Linked DNA regions of Homo sapiens: region 2 is linked to region 1. The links are contacts of gene promoters, found by promoter capture Hi-C in blood cells and fetal thymus (Javierre and others, 2016). All regions are on one chromosome and are shown on one strand. The core of a region is centred on a gene start or on the middle of the fragment in contact, and the rest is flanking DNA. Distances in the headings are between cores, read along the strand shown. Region 1 holds the start of EIF4ENIF1 (eukaryotic translation initiation factor 4E nuclear import factor 1). Region 2 holds the start of YWHAH (tyrosine 3-monooxygenase/tryptophan 5-monooxygenase activation protein eta).

Region 1 (6,800 bases), core at 509-3,008:
TTAAGCATCTCCAGTTTTTAGCTAGGGGAAATATGACTGAAGCCTTACTTTTTTGAGTCCATATCCAATTTGTAATAGAAAATAAAAAAACAGGATTGAAAAGCCAGTTACCCATGAAAAGCACACTCAAGAGCATTCCTATGGGGAGTCTGCCTCTTAAGGAAACATCAATACAGAGGACACTAACTTTGTAACGCATCCTAGGGCTTTAATCCTCACAGTACAGTATGTAAATCAATAAACGTACCAATTACATAGCTGTTACAGAACTTACAAAGTATACTGATCCGCAATTTTAAAAAAATCTAAGCCTACATTCCCTTCACCTAAAAGCCTCTCAAAGCAAATTCCAGCTTAAACGCTGGGTATCTACACTTGCAGAAAAATGTTCAAAGTAATGCACTACTAAATTTAGTTAATATTTAGTCCATGTAGTGAGTCAGAATGAGATTACCACTTAATAGGAATGAAATAGTTATACAATGTTACTAACTTCGCCACCTAAAAAGAAACACTATTTCATTAGTGGCAAACCTTACTTTTGTATAGCGATGGGGGCATTTGGAGGCAGGAGGCTTCTTCAGGTCAAGGAAAGCATCTCCACTTTCTGTTTCACCCATACTTCTCCTATCCATGGCTCCTTGGTCTACAATGCTCTGCACCTGGAAGATAAATCGGCACAAAATTGTCACCGAGAACAGTAAGTTTTCAGAAATCTTGGCTGTTTCTTCAGAAGCTGAAACTTTTTAATCTCTCAAAACAGCTAGTGTTAAAAACAAGTCCCCACCCCAAAATTATGCTATAAATTAGAACTTGGAGATAGAATCATTGGTACTCAGTTCTCTTTCCTAGTATCCTAAGCATCAACATGGTAAAAAGTAGAAGGTGCCCAATTCAAGGTATATAACCTTTAAGCAGCTTTAACACAAGAGAAACCAAGATTAGTAGCTGCCACCCATGGGGATCTTTCAAGACTGGTGGGGAAGTTTCCCGGAGTGGGGGCAGGTAGAAGACTGGTTAGGCTGGGAACCCGCGAAGTCTGTTGGAAAGTGCCTGTCACTTGCCAATGGACGGCGCCAGCTGCCCCTTGTTATCCGGCGATCAGGGACTGGGGACGGGGCCCGAGCGCCCCTCGCCAGGCCAGCCGCACCTGTGGCCATGTCAGGGGCGCCGATGGCAAGGAAAGGGCGAGCACCGGCTTCAGCTCCGAAACTTGGCTTCCCCGGGCCGCGACCCCAACCCGCAGCCCCTCACGCAGGCCCGGGCCCAGCGGCCTCCTTCGGAGGAAGGGCGGAGACCGTACTCACTGAGGGGCGGCCGGCCGCAGGGAGGAGGGAGGCCGAATCTCCCGGCCCGGGCGCTTCAAGCTGGAGCTAGCGCAGGCCCGCAGCCGTCCTCCCCGGCCCGGCGGCTCGGTCCCCGCCAGCCAGCCCGCCGGCTACCCGCCGGCCGCCTTGCGGGCCTCGCGCCCCTGCCCACCCCCTGCGGGCGCCCCGGCGCCCGCGCTCACGCACGCGACCCCGGGAGCAATGCGCCCGCGCCCCTTCTACACCCGGGAGCACCGGGCGCGCGGTGCCCCGGACCCAGCCGCCACCGCCGCCGACCCTTACTCGGTGCCTCCGCCGCTCGGCGGCCCTTTGCCTCGGCCGCCGCTCCCCTCCCCGCTGCCCGCACCGGTCCCAGCGCCGCTCCCCGCAGCCTTCGCTCTCGCGCCCCCACCCCGACCGGCTTGGGCTGTCTCTCTTCAGCCGCCGTAACTGCAGCCCGGCCCTCCGCCCCTCCTCTTCGGCCCCCTCCCCCTTAATAACTCCCTCCACGCACCCTGGCCCCGGCGCCGCCTTCCCCGCCGCGCGCCCGGATGTGAGGTGGCTGCAGCGGTGCCGGGCGAAAAAGAAGCATCGCCGCGCGCTTCCCGGACGCCAGCCCCTGCGCGGGCCGGGGGGTGGGAAGGTGGTGGCGGCGAGGAGGAGGCCACGGTGGGGATAGCGGAAACCCGCTCCCGTGCGCGCAGGCGGTCGCCGTGGGCAGCCCAGAGGCCACCGCCGCCGCGTTCCCACGCGCGCTGCAGGGCAGAGCGGACGGCACTTGGGACCCGCGACTCGCGGCACGCCACTCTCCCGGAGGCGGTGGCTAGATGGGGCTGGGCTGGCGGCTAGCACGGCCTGTGGCGCGACGACCGCTGTATTTGCATGGTTCGCATAGGCAGAGAACCGTGGGGCTTCGGCAGTGGGAATTTGAGATAGGAGATTGGGGTCTTCCGAGCCTTCCCAGTGCGGGTTCGAACCTCAGCTGTTTTGCGAGTGGCGTGATCTTAGGCAAAGCTGACTTAACCTAAGTTTCGGTCGTGTTTCTAAAATGGCCTCTGTAAATCTATGAGGCTTATGCGCGAGTACTGGTTGCTGCATTAAAAGACAAACTTGTCACGATTGGCTTTGATAGCGATAAAGGCGACTAACAAATTCATTGAAATGTTGTTTCCCTCCGGTAACCTGAATCTGTCCTTAGCCTGCACAGAAAGGGGAAGTGCGAGTGGAGTTGGGGAAATGAGACGGCGAATGTCAAGTGCTTACCACGTAGTGCAGACTCAGGCTGACAGGGGGCCACAGAAATGCAAATATGTGAGCAGTGTGGGTAACTGCATCCTGGGGAGGAAGTCCTATGTGCTGGAATACCACAAGCACCCATTTCTGCCCTGTGGTACTGCGCAGCGTTGGTGTGAAGCGATACATAGGCGTGAAGTCCCGAGAACGCAATTTTCCTGGTTAAAGGACAGCAACGTCTACATTTCTTCCAAGAGGCCTACTTTGTTGGAACTTCACTTCACTTGTGAAATTAGGGTGTTGGGCAGTGAGTGACCACTAACTCAGCTCCCTTCTTGTGAATCTTGGCAACAGAAAACTTTTCGTTTGTATTACTGAATAAAGTGTGTTTCTTACAAACTGTTTTTTTACAGGCAAGAGGCAGAGGGAAACACTTGCACATCAGGCCTGAGTTTGCATTCTCATCTCTGCCACCTCCTACAAGCTATGGAGAGTTAGTCTATTGATTCTTAGTTTTACCTGTGAAATTGCGAAGATGATATAACCTGCTCATGGGGCAGTTAAGATTAAACAGGATAAGGTGGGTAAAAAACCATATATAACCCATAAAGCTGCTGAGCCTTTTTAAGCCTATACAGAGACACGTTGCAGGTGATAATACAGATGTTATTATTTTAACAATCAAGCTGTTTTTGGAATCCAAATTCTTCCTAAAGCTGTGGGAAACAGGTCTAATCCCCTTTAGTGTCTTGGAGACTCCCTGGAGTAGTGGAGAAGGCCCGTTCTTTGAAGCTGCTAAATCCTGACCCTGCCAATTAGTGTGAAACCTGAGCCAGGCATTTCACCACCTGGATCTCCCTTTCCTCATTTTTCCGAAAGGGATCGCAGTATACCTACTTTTTAGGCTTGCAGAGGGAATTAAAGATAACATTAAAAACACTGCTCTGGTTATTTTATTTTGGGGGTGATGAAGTCTTGCTCTGTCATCCAGGCTGGAAAGCAATGGCACAATCATAGCTCACTGCTCCAGCCTCAGCCTCCCAAATAGCTGGGACTACAGGCTCCTGCCACTACAGCAGGCTAATTTTTAACGATTTTTTGCAGAGACGGGATCTTGCTATGTTGCTCAGGCTGGTCTCAAATTCCTGGCCTCAAGTGATCCTCCTGCCTCAGCCTCCAAAAGCACTGGGATTACAGGCATGAGCCACCACACCTGAGCTTTCTTGAAAAAGAAAATACTAGAAACCCGGAAATTATGGATTTCTGGTTACCTACTGTTACGTAACAAACCACCCCAGAATTCCAATTATATTTTGCTCTCAAATCTGCAAAATGGGCTGGTTCCTGCTGGGACGGCTGGTTTCTGATCCATTCAGCACCAGTGGGGGCAGCCCAAAGGCTGGGGCTGAGGGTCCCGTAAAAGCGTACATGTCTGGTGGTTGATGGTGGCTGTCAGCTAGGACCTGGGACCATTAGAGCTGTCCCTGGAACACTTACACATGGCCTCTCCCTGTGTCTGAGCTTCCTTGAAATATCAGGGCTGGATTCTAAGGGCAAGTGTTCAGAGAGCGAACAAGAAAGCCATATAGTTGCTGTATTGCCTTTCCTAACCTAGCCCTGGAATCAGTTCTACCACGTGCCACATTCTGTTCCTTAGAAAGGAGTCAGCACGGCTACCCTATATTCAAAGCAAAGGAACTTAGACTCCACCTCTATGTGGGAGGAATGTCAAGGAATGTGTAGGCATGTTTTAAACCACCACAAGCCATACATGATATCAGTGCCCAGGGCATTGTAGCTATCATGATTTGATAGCTGGAACTAATTTCCTGAGCCCTCTGGTCTATCCTACTTAGGACCTACTTTTCCACTAGGCTCCTTTAATGTCTTGTAGAACTTTGGCCTCAACTCATTTCTTACCTCTCAAAGTCTCACTCTGTCCTTATAGAAGAAGATGGTTATTACCTAGGAAAAAAGGTAATAATCTAAGGGAGGCTTCCCTAAACTTCTTTCACCTGTGCCTGGCAAAAGCTAGATGCTTACAAATTGCAAATTCTTGTTTCATTGTAGTTTTTGAGTGTTACTCTCCTTGGCAGGATAATTTTTATTTTTATTTTTTATTTTTTGAGAAGGAGTCTCGCTGTATCGCCCAGGCTGGAGTGCAATGGTGTGATCTTGGTTCACTGCAACCTCTGCCTCCCAGGTTCAAGTGATTCTCCTGCCTCAGCCTCCTGAGTAGCTGGGATTACAGGCGCATGCCACCACGCCCAGCTAATTTTTGTATTTTTAGTAGAGACAGGATTTCACCATGTTGGTCAGGCTGGTCTCAAACTCCTGACCTCATGATCCGCCCACCTCGGCCTCCCAAAGTGCTGGGATTACAGGCATGAGCTACCACGCCCGGCCTGATAATTTGTAATTTTTTTTTGAGACGGAGTCTCGCTCTGTCGTCCAGGCTGGAGTGCAGTAGCGTAATCTCGGCTCACTGCAAGCTCTGCCCCCTGGGTTCAGGCCATTCTGCCTCAGCCTCCCGAGTAGCTGGGACTACAGGCGCCCGCCACCACGCCCGGCTAAATTTTTTATTTTTAGTAGAGACAGGGTTTCACCACGTTAGCCAGGATGGTCTCGATCTCCTGACTTCATGATCCACCCGCCTTGGCCTCCCAAAGTGTTGTGATTACAGGTGTGAGCCACCGCGCCTGGCCTATAACTTGTAATTTTTTGAGACCAAGTTTTGCTCTGTCGCCCAGGCTAGAGTGCAGTGGCACAATCGGCTCACTCAACCTCTGCCTCCTGAGTTCAAGCAATTCTCATGCCTCAGCCTCCCAAGAAGCTGGGACTACAGGCCTGTGCCACCACACCTGGCTAACTTTTGTATTTTTAGTAGAGATGGGGTTTCACCATGTTGGCCAGGCTGGTCTGAACTCCTGACCTCACGTGATCCCCCAACCTTGGGTTCCGAAAGTGCTGGGTGTGAGCCATCGTGCCAGGCCAATAATTTGTAATTCTAAATGCCCCCTTCTGCAACTAATAACCAATTTTCAAGTATCAGCTTGGGAAAGCTCTTTGAGAGAGAAATTATTCTAGTTCTTTACTAAATATGTGTAAGATCTTGGTTTAGGTCTAAATTGTTGGCCCAAAGTTTGGCATAAGGGGTCTCAAAGGTTCAGTCAGTCGGGGAAATTAGCAGTCCAAGAACAGCAGAGAAGCAAATGAAAATACCAGAAACTGGCCGGACATGGTGGCTCATGCCTGTGATCCTAGCACTTTGGGAGGCTAAGGTGGGAGGATCACTTGAGATCAGGAATTCTAGACCAGCCTGGCCAACGTGACCAAACCCCGTCTCTACTAAAAATACAAAATTAGCTGGGCGTGGTAGCATATGCCTGTAATCCCAGCTACTTGGGTGGCTGAGCTAGGAAAATTGCTTGAACCTGAGAGGCGGAGGTTGCAGTGAGCCGAGATCGCGCCACTGCACTCCAGCCTGGGTGACAAAAGTGAAACTGTCTCAAAAAAAAAAAAAAAAGAAAAAAGAAAATACTAGAAACCCAGAAATTATGAGAGCACCTGTGAGAGAGTTTAATGCCAGGCCATGACCTTTCAGCAGCCTCATCACAGAAGGCTGGATTGCACCTCTCTAAATGGGCTTTTTCCTACTCAGTTTTTCTTGCTCCAAGAGTAACCCTTAGATTTTTTTTTTTTTCGAGACAGAGTCTCGCTCTGTCACCCAGGCTGGAGTGCAGTGGCAGGATCTTGGCTTACTGCAACCGCCCCCACCAGGTTCAAGCGATTCTCCTGCCCCAACCCCCCGAGTAGCCGGGATTACAGGCTCGTGACTCCACGCCTGGCTAATTTTTCTATTTTTAGTAGTAGAGATGGGGTTTCACCGTGTTGGCCAGGCTGGTCTCAAACTCCTGACCTCAAGTGATCACCCACCTTGGCCTCTCAAAGTGCTGGGATTATAGGCGTGAGCCACCGCGCCTGGTCAAATTTTTTATATTTTGTAGAGATGGGCACTATGTTGCCCAGGCTGTTCTTGAACTACTGGGCTCAGGCAATTCTCCTGGCTCAGCCTTCCAAAATGCTCAGATTACAGGTGTGAGCCACCGTGCCCAGCCTCTAAGATGTCCTTGTCCTAGCTATTATTATGTACTATTATCTTCTAATCTTTCCCAACAGGACTATTTTCATTGTAACTCAAATGGAAATGCCTTTCATCCCTCCTAAATTTGTCAAAGCTGAGGATGGTAAATGCACATA
Region 2 (6,348 bases), core at 3,831-6,330, 460 kb after region 1:
GGCTCGGGACAAAGCCCTGAGGAACCCTAGTATTTTGGGGTAGGCTAGAAGACAAGCCCATACAGCAAATAGAAGAGCAATGGCCGGAGCAGCAGAAGGGAAGCTGGGAGAGTCGGTCAAGGAAGGGTGAGCAGTCGTGCCCAGTCCAGCCAAGAGGGCCAGGGAGGTGGGCACTATGAAACCTCCTTGGCTTTGACAACAAGGAGGGCTCTGATGGCCACGGTGGAGGAGTAGGGACAGGGTGAGAGCACACTGAGCTGATGGGTGGGTAGGAGGTGAGGAAGAGGAGATGAGGAAGTTTGGTGAGAAGAAAAGCTTCATGGGAGAACCAGAGTGTCCTTTACACATGTCAGAAATCAATTATTTAGAATGCTCCAGCTCTACCTAATTTTCACTGTTTTGAAATCAATCTTAGTCCAACCTCATCAGAAAAGCTGGAAGGGCTCTAAGCCCTCTAAGAGCTAGAAGGAACCGAGGAGGTCCCCCCATCCAGGGCTGGCCCTCCTCCCATCTCTCACTGGGACCCCATCCTTATGGGGGGTGGAGTGGATGATTCATTACTATCTAGCATGCTCTTTAAATATATTCACTAGGGGAAAGATTAGCCTGGTTTGTTAACCTCGATTCCAACAGCAAAAGTGACTCTTCAAAGCATGGTGAAGCCTGGGGTAGTGGCCTCCTCCTAGACCCACATTCAAATCCTGTTTCATGGGCCCCCAGAAGTGTGATCGTTTCAGCATCATAGCAGGAAGAGGAAGGCCTGGGAGGCAGGAAACCTGGTATGGAGACCCCAGCTCTGCTCACTCGCTGTGCAAACTAGGGCCAGCCCCTCCTTTCCCTCAGACCTCAGTTTCCCGTTATTCAGGATAAGGGGTTAGACAGGGGTGATTCTAAGGGTCCTGCCAGCTCTGACATTTCAGCATGTGGATATCTATTCTAAAGTCCTTGAAACAGTTAAGTCCAATTCTCCAGATGGAAAACAGGTCCAGAAAAGGCCTGGTCTCCAGTTCCCTCCCTTCTCCCTTCGAACATGTCTTACTCTCTAGAGCAAGATTCCAGGCCTGAAATATGGCTTCCCAATTACCTAAGGATGAAGCCTCAAATCTTTGGCCTGGCATTTAAAAGACTCCGTAATCTTGTTTTACCCAACCTCACTTCCCATTCTTAGGCCTCTCTTCTCACCATCTCCCAGGTCACTGCCAAGCCTTTGCCAATGCTGTACCCCAGGCCTTAATCTTTTTCCTGACTCTCCTTCAAGATCCAGCTTATCCCTGTGGGCTGAGCATGCAGTAGATGCTCAATAAAATTCTCAGCGAGCCCAAGGCCCCCTCTCCTGCACTGCCCTTGGCGTGTTGAAATCAAGTGGGGGCCTTGTTTTAATCATCATTTTCCTAGCTTGTCGGGCAGCCCAGTCCAGGGCCTGGCACAAGGGACCCTCAGCATCCAATACCAGCCAGGATTGGGAGGGGCTCAGTGACCAGCCAGTTGGGCCACCCCAGCTCTTTGCCACAAGAGAAAGTTCAGCCTGGGTTTGGACTCAGATCCTGGCCCCACCACTTACAGGCTGCGTAACCCTGAGCAAGTCACTAACCTCGCTTTTCCTCAGGTTCCACGTTTTAAATATGGGGAGACCAGCTGTGCCCACTGTGGGCTGGGTAGTGAGGATTAAAGAGGAGGATGCTTGTACGGGACTAGCACTGGGCTGGCTCCTAATGTGTCCTGAATATTACTTGTCCCGCCCTGGCCACCCAGTCCCCTCCTCTGGTGGAAGGCACAGCCTGCCCAAGGCTACGTCTCAGGTTGGGTTCGATTGTGTGTGTCTGTGTAGCGGGGCTGTCCCCGAGGGTCGGACTCGATCCTGCCCGGACCAGTACAAGGTGTGGCCCAGCAGAACGCATGGACAGGCAGGGCTCGGGGCGGGCGGGACGGCTGGGGCGGGGCTGGGCGGACCCGCCCCTCGGGGCACGCGGTCTCCCGGCTTCTCCGCCAGTATGTTTGCTTGCTTTTGGGGCCCTTCTCAAGCCAGATCTCTAACGTGGATGGAGTGGCGCGTTTCAGGGTGGGGCTATGACAATGCACTGCCTGTGCAGCCGCCATCACCGCGCCCCCTCCACCGGCTCCGCAGTCTCCTGCCCGGCTTTCCCTTCTCCACCTCCATCTCTGCGGCGGTAAAATGCAGCACTCGCAGAGCGCCTGCGCGGCTTTCAGGCCGGGCGGCGGCGGCGGCGGTGGCTATTTATAGTAGGTGACGTCACCTTGAAATAGACCGTTAGGGCCGGCCCGCCCTTCCCCCCTCCCACTCCCGCCGCTCCCCGCCGCCCGGCCTGGCCACTCTCACTGCGCAGGCGTCGTCCCGTCCTCCCATCCCCCAGCGCGGCCGCGTCTCCTCCCTCGGCGTTGTCCGCGGCGCGAGCCACAGCGCGCGGGGCGAGCCAGCGAGAGGGCGCGAGCGGCGGCGCTGCCTGCAGCCTGCAGCCTGCAGCCTCCGGCCGGCCGGCGAGCCAGTGCGCGTGCGCGGCGGCGGCCTCCGCAGCGACCGGGGAGCGGACTGACCGGCGGGAGGGCTAGCGAGCCAGCGGTGTGAGGCGCGAGGCGAGGCCGAGCCGCGAGCGACATGGGGGACCGGGAGCAGCTGCTGCAGCGGGCGCGGCTGGCCGAGCAGGCGGAGCGCTACGACGACATGGCCTCCGCTATGAAGGCGGTGAGCGCGCCGGGAGCCCGGGCGGCTGGCCGGGGGGGGCCTGGCGTTGGGGAGGGACGGGGATGGCCGCGGGCGCGTTCCCCTCCCGGCCATGGGCGACCCGGCGACCCGGCTGGGCGTGGCCGCCCGCCCGCCCTTAGCCCGCGCTTCCCGCTCCCGCTGGGCGCCCCGCCACTTCCTGAGGCTGGGCCCAGGGTGGGGGATCCGGGAGGGTGCAGTTCGGGATCGCGAAGGCAGCCCCGGAAGGGGGGCGGGCCGGTCGGGGTCGCCACATCTTAGTTCGGAACCCGGCCGGGGGCAGAGGGTGCCCTAGGGGACGCGAAGGAGCCGCATTTCTCCTAGAGCGTTTCACCGGACCCGGGGGCTCCCCCTCTCGTCTTCCTCCGTTCCCCAACTTGGAATAAAGAATCACCTAGTAAGTGGCGCCCTGTCTCAGCTGGTTTTCTCTGCCACGACCTGAAGTCTGCAATTCCGATCTGTTTTGCTCTGCTCGTTCGAATTGTTCTGGTTCCATCTTCCCACGCCTGGGGGTCTGGCTTTGTGTGCGAAGACCCCTTTCCTGCAGTCTAGGCGTGGACGGGGGCGGGAGAGTGGGCGGAGGGTGTGGGGCCCCACTCCACAGCCCCAGGTTTGCTGCTGCGCTGTCTGCTTGGAGATTAAAATGAAACGTGACTTCTAGGTGAGACGAATCTGTGTGTCTTTGCATTCCTGAGACCCTCATAAATCGATTCTGCAGCTTCTCCGGTGGATGAGTCGTGCCCAGCCACACCCTAGCAAAATACCGTGGGTCACACACCACCTGCATTTCTGAGTTCCGGTTACCATCTCACTCTCTCTCCACGTTATTTTACGTTTTCTGTAAATGAATATTTCCTCTCCCTGCGTCAAGGTCACACAGTGGTAGAACAACTGCGACCACCAACCTATGTTCAGTGTACAACCTCCTGAGACCTGGGAGGATCCCCTTGAACTCCGCCTTAGACCTATACATTCAGAAATTCGGGCGGTGAGACTCAGACATCTGCATTGTAACCAGCTCTCACAGGCGATTTTTAGCTGGCTTAAGTCTGAGAATTACTGCCCATGATTATAGTAAATGTATCCTTTGCTGGCCTTTTGGAGGGAGTTCCGAAAAAAAACTGCCAATACAAAGGCTCCCTAAAATCTTAAGTCATTTGGAAAGCTCATTTGAAGGCTTTTGATGTTAATATCAGATGAAATATGTAGTTGGGGCCAATATTTAGGATTGTTCAGGTAAGAAAGGTGCTTGAAGAGTTGCCTTTCCTCTGGTGTCCTTGTTACACACATAACTGGGTGTGTTTGGAAACCAGCAACACCGTTGCCCGTATGTTGATTTGTTGGTGATCTTGACTTGAGCACTATTAGCATGCTGTTGTGGTGAGGCAGGTTTTCTTCCAGACCGGGGGACGGTCTAGGTCTGGAGGCTGAACTTTATGTAATTCAGGGGGTCCTTTAAAAGAAAATCTAAAATATAGTTTTGCATATTTTACAAAAATGGGACTGACGAATGCATTTCCTTGGAAGGGACCCTGAACCTTAATTTTCTGTGGGATAAAGCTGCCTCTGTCCACAGCAGGTCACACTTAAGCCCCTCCTCCCCAGTAACTGAGTGGTGCTGGGATTATGCAGGCTGAGGCCTCTCCACACATTTTCATGAAGTGGTTGCTCACCCTCTAAGTGAGACGTAAAGACTGCAGTGTTCGGAGCCCTTTGGGAAATAAATGTGGTGAAAAGAAAGGAGGGACGAGGTTTAAAGGAAGGGGAAATGGAGGTTAAGGAAAAATGGCTAGAAGGTGTGTTCTGGAACAATCAGAAACCTGAGGCAACTTGAAATGGGGGAAAAAGGCAAGAATGGAGAGATGTTACCAGAACGAAATCTAGTTTGAGCAGAGAAAAAGACTGGCTTTCTAGTAGGCTTGTAAAATGCTTTCCTGCAGCAAGCTACTTGTGTCCATAGATCTTCTCTGGAGGGTTAAGGTAGCCTTTTGTAAACCAAAGGAATCTATAATATCTATATTTGAAATAATTAATGAGTTGGAAAAGCCACCCAGCGTAGAAGAGTCAATCCAAGCTTTAATTCTGCCATCTCAGAATGGTGATAAACCATTTCTCCCCCATCATCTAAATGGAATATATTGTGCTTATAGGTATTTTCTTTAAAAGAAAAAAAAGAATATATTGGAAGGGACTGGCAGGGGTCACTTTCCCTGCTAACTTGGTGTTTGTAGATTAAATTCTTAATGTTACTGGGATGACTCAGTCTCTATGTTATTAATCTCATCAGCCTTAACTAAGGCTTTTGGAAAGGGTGTAAGTTTCAGTAACCCTCTGGGTTTACCTGGGCTTTCTTCAGGGCTGGGGAAGGGCAGGTAAGTAGCCTGCTGTAGGGAGGATGGAGCAGGACACATGTGTTAAGGATATATTCTGATGCCACCAGTCTGTAACCTTGAAACTTACATCTTGGCTTTAGGTCCTCTGAAGTATAAAACTAGTGATGTTGCTGTTATTAACAAGTCAGTTTTGCCTTCAGTCTTCTAACTTGTTTTCTGTTTCCTTCATAATTAAAATGCTCACTTGATAATACTGCCTTCCTGTAATGATTGATGTTCCTCATTCTACCAGCGTCACCTGGAGGACAGTGTTGGTAAGCTTGAAGAAAAATCGTGCATACTGGAAACAATGGTCTTGCCTCAAACCTGTTGAGAACTTCTCTTCCCTGCTTCTCTCCATAATTTGAAGAAGCAAGAAATGTTTCTGAAGTGAAGCATAAAGGAGTATCTTCAAGCTCTATCTCATACCTACCAGCTTGCATAGAGTATAATAGTGGGAAGAAATATTGTGAAAGATTCTAGAACCTAAGTCCTTTCTAGGCTAGGCAATTCTAGGCTACACAATTCGTAGTCTCTGTAAATACCATTTGATAACTGAAATAAACCTATAAAGTGGGATTAAATGTTAGTCCAGAAGACTAAGTGATTTAAGGAAAGAGGGAAAATAACCAGATAGATTTCTGGTGGATATTCATAGACAGACATAATTTCATCATGTATTATGGCCCTAAGTCATCTATTTTATATTAAAACATAGATGGTAACTGTAAAGTTATCAAATGTAAAAATTACTGGGCTAGCATTGTGTTTTAACACTGATACACCAGTTGATTACAGTGTTGACAGAAAACGGGCAGAAACACGTTTAAAGTACCTGCAGAATATATATATAGAAATCTTTTTTTTTTAATCAGTGTTGACCAGGTTGGCCTCGAACGTGTAGCCTCACCTCCCCGAGTGCCAGGGCAACCGGCCTGAGCCACAGCGGCTCCCTAGAAATCTTAAGTGCAGGAAACAAAACTACAGTTTAAGGAAACAGGAGTCGGAGAGGAGGGGCATTTGGCCCAACCACTGGCAAAAGGCTGTTGTTGCAACAACTGTGAGATTCTGGGAAGTGGGGAAATGAGCAGGTGCTGTGTAAAAGTGCACAGCTGACTGCCCCAGGTGAGACAGATCAGTGTCACAGAGAGTAGGAGGATTTTGAGGTGTGATTAGTATTTTTTTTTTTTTTCTTAAAGAGATGGTCTCGTTCTGGAACCCAGGCTGGAGTGCAGTCGTGGCACGATCATAATTCAC

The links. Contacts are between HindIII fragments. The CHiCAGO score rates a contact against its expected background, and 5 or more counts as called.
Region 2: a fragment that was not itself captured here is called in contact with the fragment with the promoter of EIF4ENIF1 in region 1 in 2 of 17 cell types (total B cells and naive B cells); the score reaches 5.9 in total B cells.

The regions. Positions count from the first base shown.
Region 1 is chr22:31,488,084-31,494,883 of GRCh38, forward strand. It overlaps EIF4ENIF1 (eukaryotic translation initiation factor 4E nuclear import factor 1), which reads right to left and starts at 1,759. Exons shown (of 19, transcript NM_019843.4): 1 at 1,611-1,759; 2 at 540-662. The coding sequence starts at 635. RefSeq lists enhancers at 1,068-1,691, 1,692-2,314, 2,714-2,773, 6,211-6,260 and silencers at 1,144-1,433, 1,514-2,163. The HindIII fragment of the contact is 26,330 bases long and covers 1-6,800 here.
Region 2 is chr22:31,942,120-31,948,467 of GRCh38, forward strand. YWHAH (tyrosine 3-monooxygenase/tryptophan 5-monooxygenase activation protein eta) reads left to right here and starts at 2,416. Exons shown (of 2, transcript NM_003405.4): 1 at 2,416-2,701. The coding sequence starts at 2,615. LOC124900477 (a long non-coding RNA gene) reads left to right here and starts at 2,715. Exons shown (of 3, transcript XR_007068065.1): 1 at 2,715-3,116; 2 at 3,381-3,559; 3 at 5,345-6,348. YWHAH-AS1 (YWHAH antisense RNA 1) reads right to left here and starts at 3,247. Exons shown (of 3, transcript NR_171018.1): 1 at 3,114-3,247. RefSeq lists enhancers at 878-1,735, 1,736-2,593, 3,337-3,386 and silencers at 1,857-2,006, 2,287-2,376, 2,387-2,606, 2,677-3,016. The HindIII fragment of the contact is 578 bases long and covers 4,792-5,369 here.